Linked DNA regions of Homo sapiens: region 2 is linked to region 1. The links are contacts of gene promoters, found by promoter capture Hi-C in human tissues and cell types (Jung and others, 2019). All regions are on one chromosome and are shown on one strand. The core of a region is centred on a gene start or on the middle of the fragment in contact, and the rest is flanking DNA. Distances in the headings are between cores, read along the strand shown.

Region 1 (3,068 bases), core at 399-2,898:
GAAGTAGCAAGCGATGACGATGGTGGCGGGCACTGTGTAGAGCACGGAGAAGACGCCGATGCGCACCATGAGCCGCTCCAGCTTTTCGGTCTTGGTGCCGTCGTGCTTCATGATGGTGCGGATGCGGAAGAGCGACACGAAGCCGGCCAGGAGGAAGGACGTGCCGATGAACAGGTACACGAAGAGCGGCGCTAGCACGAAGCCCCGCAGCGGGTCCAGGCTGTTGAGGCCTACGAAGCACACGCCGCTCAGCAGGTCGCCGTCGATCTGGCCCATGGCCAGGATGGTGATGGTCTTGACGGCCGGCACGGCCCAGGCGGCCAGGTGGAAGTACTGAGAGTTGGCCTCGATGGCCTCGTGGCCCCACTTCATGCCGGCTGCCAGGAACCAGGTGAGCGACAGGATGACCCACCAGATGGAGCTGGCCATGCTGAAGAAGTAGAGCATCATGAAGAGGATGGTGCAGCCCTCCTTCTTGGTGCCCTGCACCACCGTGCGGTAACCGTCCTCGGAGAAGCGCTCGTTGCACACCACGCGCTCCTGGAGCACGAAGCCCGCGATGTAGGCCACCGACACCATGGTGTAGCAGCCCGACAGAAAAATGATAGGCCGCTCTGGGTAGCGGAAGCGCTGCATGTCTACCAAGTACGTGGTGACAGTGAAGAAGGTGGAAGCGCAGCACAGCACCGACCAGGTGAGGATCCAGAGGCGCGCGAAACGCGTCTCCTCCTGTGAGAAGAACATGGAACCATCGGGCCGCGCAGGTTCGCAGGGCGCAGCACAATCACGCTCGCCCAGAAACTTGTAGCTGAGATAGGATGGCACCTTGAGGACGCGCGGGCAGTGGAAGGGGTGCTCCAGCGTGGCGTAGCGCGGGGGAGCGCCGCCGCCGCCCGGGCCACCCGGGGTGCCCCCGGCACCCGGCTGCAGTCCCGGCGGCGGCGCGGTGGTGAGTAGCGCGGGAGCTCCGTCCTCGGAGTGGTTCTGGCCGACGCAGATCTGCTCGGCGCCGTGGCGCGGGAAGTGCTCGCAGCGCAGGCGCTCGGGCCACTGAAAACCGAACTTGTTCATGAGGGCTTCGCAGCCCTGGCGCGCGCGCTCACAGATAGAGCGGCACGGCGGGATGGCCTGTTCCAGCACGGTGCACACGGGTGCGTACATGGAGCACAGGAAGAAGCGCAGTTCGGGCGAGCACTGCACCTTCACCAGCGGATAGAACTGGTGCACCTCTAGGCCTGCGTCCTCCTGGTTCGTGTGGCCCAGAAGGTTGGGCATGATGGTCTGGTTGTAGGCGATGTCCGTGCACAGCGGGATGGAGATGGGCTGGCAGAAGCCGTGGTCCGGGATGGAGATGCCCTTCTCCCCGTGGAACTGGGCCGGCCCGGCGGCGGGCAGCAGCAGCAGCGGCAGCAGCAGGCGGGGCAGGGCGCTGCGGGGCCGCATGCTGGCCGCCGCCCCCCACCCGGCTCCTTGGCGCCCCCCCCGCCCCCGCCCCCAACCCGGAGACTGCGCTTCTTCCCCGCCGCCTCCTCGCTGCGGCTGCCGCCTCCCGCGCCTCTTTGCAAACTTTACTCGCGGCCGCAGAGTTGGGGAGGCCGGGCGGGGGAGGGGGCGGTGCGCCTGCCCGCTTGCTTGCCGCGGTCGGACTGAGCAGCCGGAGACACCGCGCGCTGCTGCCCTCTCTCCTCTTCCTCCTCCTCTCGCCTCTCAGCTCCCCCTCTCCCCTCCCTTCTGCACCCAGCGACTTCTTTGTGCCTCCTCCAGCCCTCACCTCGGCCTCTCCGATCCCAATTAGTCGGTTTCAAGGGGGCCCCCGCTGGCGGCCCCGCCCTCTCCTCAGCCCCCCAAAAAAGGGATCCTTGAAACCGCCCCGTCGAGCTCTAAGCACCAACCCAAAATGTGCTCTCGGCCAATCAGATTTAAACCCGAGGACCAGGCCCGAGGGCTGGATTGGTCGACCACAACATAATGAGATCAGAAACCAGATGCCAACAAAACTTTCCCCCCCTTTTGCTTTTTAAAGAGACAAGCTATTATTATATTAAGGGCTGTTTGCCCAGCCCGGGATTTCTCCGGAGTTGCCGCGGCGAGATCGGGGGACACTACTCGACCCTGGCTCACTCCTCTTCCCGGGCCGAGGTGCTCTGCCGGGTGGGGACTCTTTAAACCCTTGCCCCCGCCCCCGATCCTCGAACCCCACCTATTCCTAGTCCAATTTTTCAAATCGAGTGAAAAATCTCAAATTTAAAAATTAAAACAGACTTTAAAAAAACTAACAATTTACAAAGACCTTTTCTGTCCGCTCTTTCTGGAGCCCAGGCGAAAGTTTCACTTCACTTTACACGTAGATCCCTCGCCCTCCCCCTCCACACACCCTTAAAAAACCCTCTGAAAAATGGGATCCTGTCTCTTTAAGAGACTCTTAAAGGGACCAGGACTCCGAGGCGTAATTGCCCCGTAGCCAACACAAAGGAGCCCATTATGGTTCTTTGTGTTCGGTGGCACCTCAAAGTGAGAAAACTCAGGAACTCGGAGGCCCGGAGCTGGAGGGTTGGGGCGGGGGGCTTGGAGGGAGCGAGGGAAAGGAGAATGGCCCGGAGCTGCGGCTTCTCCCTCCCGCTTCTTCTGCGGCAAATCTTAATTGTGCAAAGTAAAGTTTAGTTGCCCTAAGGAGGAGGTCTTAATCGAAAGTTAATGGTGGGGGGCGGGGGGTGACGGGCAATTTTGAGTGAAGGGACGACTCTCTTAGGCCTGACGAACGTTTGAGGGAATTTTCCTTCTGCCTCCCCACCTCTACCTCCGCCCCCTAAAAGCTTCCAGATCCCGTCTCCAGGGCGAGAGGGGAGTTTTACCCAAATCTTAAGTGGTTCCACACCAGAGAGGGGTGGCGTGTGTGACGCGGGAGGAAACTGGGGGGTTGTGGTGAATTATCCCCTCCACATCTCTCACCTGGTAAGGGGTGGGGTGTGGCCAGCAGGGTTCCTGCTACTTTTAGAATTTTTCTTTTCCCTTCTAGGATTTTAAATTTGGAAAGGGGTCGAGGAGGAATTTGCATGTAAATCTCCTGG
Region 2 (3,068 bases), core at 1-2,500, 360 kb after region 1:
AAAAAGAAATCCCATCTGAGCCTGGTAGGGACTGCCTCCGGCCTAGGTTCCAACAAGAAGAAGAAGCCAAAGCCACCGGCACCCCCGACGCCCAGCATCTATGATGACATCAACTGACTTGGGTGCAAGGGATAGCCTTTGGCTGAGCAGAGCCCTCTCTCCTGACCCCCACCCAGGTGGCATAGCCTGGCAAATGGACGGCTGCTGGGGGTTGGGGCTTGGGAAGCTTGGTGGGCCAGGCAGGCAGAGGATCCGATTATGCGCCCCTGGGGGGTGTCAAAGTCCTCTGCAATGGAGCACGACTCCTCGGCGTGCAGGACTCAGACCTGGACATATTATGCCTTGGACATAAGTTTGGTGGGGAGGCGGTTTTCCTATTTATTCTGTGAGTTACTGGATGTCCAGCTAGGCCAGGGGCCTGACCTGGGCACTGTGCCAGGGCACTGCCTGCCCCCCACCCCAGGAACTGGACTAAGCCCTGCTGAGGGGCAATGTGGCGACCCGGGAGGCTGTGGGTTGGAAGCTGAGCCTGGAGGGGGCCTGCCTCGGCCGCCCTCAGCAATGTGAATGGGTCCGGTGCTTGGAGCTGAGGGGCAAGGCTGGGCATGTCCTGTCTGTGTGCAGAATCTTATCAAATGCCCCCAGTCCCAGGGGTAGGCAGGCACAGAGTGCTGTCTGCTGAGGTGGGCGTCCAGAACTGCCGCCACCTTCCCTGCCCCTCACAGGGGCAGCCCTTTCCCCTCAGTCCCCATGGGCCTCCTTGGCAGCAGGAGCTGTCCTTTTGTTGGGTGCCAGGAAAGGGCCTCCAGCCTCTACAGCTTCAAGGAATGGGAAAGGGAGGGTAGGAAGAGGGAGAAGTGTCAGAATTCCTCCCCCTGCCTCTCCTCCCTGACCCAGGGCTGGTGAGGAGTGGGGCCCCAAGGTGAGAGGGAACGGTGCTGCTTTATTTGAAATGTTTTCTTACCTCATTCCCTGCCCCAGGAAGGGACCCAGCCTCACCCTCCTGGGGTGGCCCCGTGTTCCTCCTGCCCACCCTGCCCCACTGCCCTACCGGGGCAGCCCAGGTTCCCAACTGCTGCTTCCACCCCCTTCACCTTGACTGGCTTCAGTTCCTCTCAGCGCTCCTGCCTCCAAAGCGTGCCCTGTTTCCCTTCCTTAGCGCTTTTAAGTTATTTATTCTGTACTTGTGGTTTGGGGCTCTGAGGAAAATCCTAATCTTGTGCCTCTCCCCCTTTGCTAGGAGTTGGGTGGGAAGAGAGGGTGGCCTCTGTGCCCCAGGTTGTCAGTGGAGGGGAAGGGGTGTCACTGCCCCTCTGTGGGACTGTCATGCCAGTGTGCCCACCTGCCTGGTCTACATCCTAAAGAGATGTACCGTCCCCCCTCCATGCGGGCACCACCACTCCCAGGAGCCAAGCTGGAGGACCGCGACCTGGGCTGGGAGCAGAGCTGACTGACATGGGTGGAGGTGACCCTGAGCCAAGTTCTCTGGCACTTGCTGGACATGTCCCCTACCCTCTTCCCAAGAGGAGCCATCCCACATTTGGGTAGTTAGTACCCAGGACTGGTTGGACTGATCGGGTTAGGGACCCTAGAGGGTTAAGGGAACAACAGAGATGGGGCTGCAATGCCCTGTCTGGAACTCCGCTCTCCCGCTGGGGTGGTTCTGATTGTGGCTCATGCCTGGTTGCAAATTGGTTTTTAACCCACAAATTGTGATTATTTTTTAAAAAGCCAAACAGATTTTGGCAGGAGTTAGAATAAATCCCGGGGCCTGGGCTTCTCTATTCTTGGCCCTCCGTAGTCTCCCTCCGAGAGGAGGCCAGAGGGAGAGGAGGATCTCAGCAGGCCTCTAGCCGCTTCCAGATGCAGTCTGGGGAGTGGGCTGAAGGTGAAGGGAGGAAGGCTGTGGGCCACTCTCCCTTCTGAGAGGCAGCTGCAGCTCAGGCCCTAATACACTCTTTGCCCTGTGGCCTCTCCCTTTTCCCCCCTTCTGGTTGGAGGAGGGAGAAGTGGGAAGTAGCTTGGGAACTGGTTTGTCCACATAAACTTCCCCATTGTTCCTTGGCCCGCCCTCAGGGCAGAGCCCCCTGCCCAGGCTGGGTAAGAGATGGGCTTGGTCCAGCAGGGACCCTGAGGGAACAAACCCTTTTCCTTCTGGGGAGAGAGTGCCCCCCCTACCATGTAGTTGAACAGGGGCTAGGAGCTCCCCACTCCCCTCCCTCTAACAGCAGGCTGTGTGGGTTTCAATTCCCATCCTTCCCACCCCGGCTAGGTGTCGTCCACCCTGTATCCTGTGTCTGAGTGTGTGTGGGGGGGTTCTGTACTAATTTCCATGGCCGGTGGCTTTTCCTTCCATGCATCACTCCCCCCCGCATGCCCAGGGGCCACCCGCCTGGCATTACCGCATGCTGGGGTCATTGGGGGAGGGGGGTGGGGCTCACGCTGTCCTGTGGTCTTGAGATTTTTATTTTTGCATATGTAATCCATTCTGTACAGGTAGCTAACTTTGTAAACGCTGTGTATTCCCTCTGCCCCCATGGCTGCTGGTGTAAATAAACTGCATCTCCCGTTGGTAGCCCCGGCCTACCTACTCTCATTACCATTTTCCTGGGGGCAGCGCAAAGCCATTCTCTGTCACAGAAAGAGGCTGCAGGACCACAAAATGGAACTTTATTCAGTCACAGACACTGACCCTCCAATAGCCCCAGAAGCAAGAGCCTAGGGCCCAGCAATCCATACCCAGTCCTTGGAGTTGGGCAGGGTAGGACGCTGGCCAAGGGCCAGTGCTGTCTCTTGCTTACAGCCTGAGGACTACGGGAGCAGCAGCTGTGGCCTGGCCGCTCCCAATGCTGGGGGCTTGGCTTGGTGCCCCATCCCCTTCCTGACTGAGCTCTATGAAGGACTCTTAAAAAAATAAAATAAAATGCAAGCAAAGTGCTTTGAAAGAAGGGAGGACACCCTATTCCTGCTAAGGGGTAGAGGAAGAAGGTGAAGGCGGCTAGGTGCCCATAAGAGAAGGCTGGCACAATCTTCATTCCCGCCAGTGTGATTTCAGTCTCAAAAGATGA

What was found. Contacts are between HindIII fragments. The study calls those that stand out against the background at their distance.
Region 2: a contact is called between a fragment that was not itself captured here and the fragment with the promoter of FZD2 in region 1, in 1 of the 25 tissues and cell types used here (stomach).

The regions. Positions count from the first base shown.
Region 1 is chr17:44,556,064-44,559,131 of GRCh38, reverse strand. FZD2 (frizzled class receptor 2) reads right to left here and starts at 1,648. Exons shown (of 1, transcript NM_001466.4): 1 at 1-1,648. The coding sequence starts at 1,443. RefSeq lists silencers at 902-951, 1,197-1,443, 1,842-1,941 and enhancers at 438-1,398, 1,616-2,383, 2,384-3,068. The HindIII fragment of the contact is 9,533 bases long and covers 1-3,068 here.
Region 2 is chr17:44,191,312-44,194,379 of GRCh38, reverse strand. TMUB2 (transmembrane and ubiquitin like domain containing 2) reads right to left here. Exons shown (of 4, transcript NM_001076674.3): 4 at 2,451-3,068. It overlaps ATXN7L3 (ataxin 7 like 3), which reads left to right. Exons shown (of 13, transcript NM_001382309.1): 13 at 1-2,575. The coding sequence ends at 117. Among named protein-coding and RNA genes, the nearest start is that of TMUB2, 5.9 kb to the right of the region's middle. The HindIII fragment of the contact is 9,798 bases long and covers 1-3,068 here.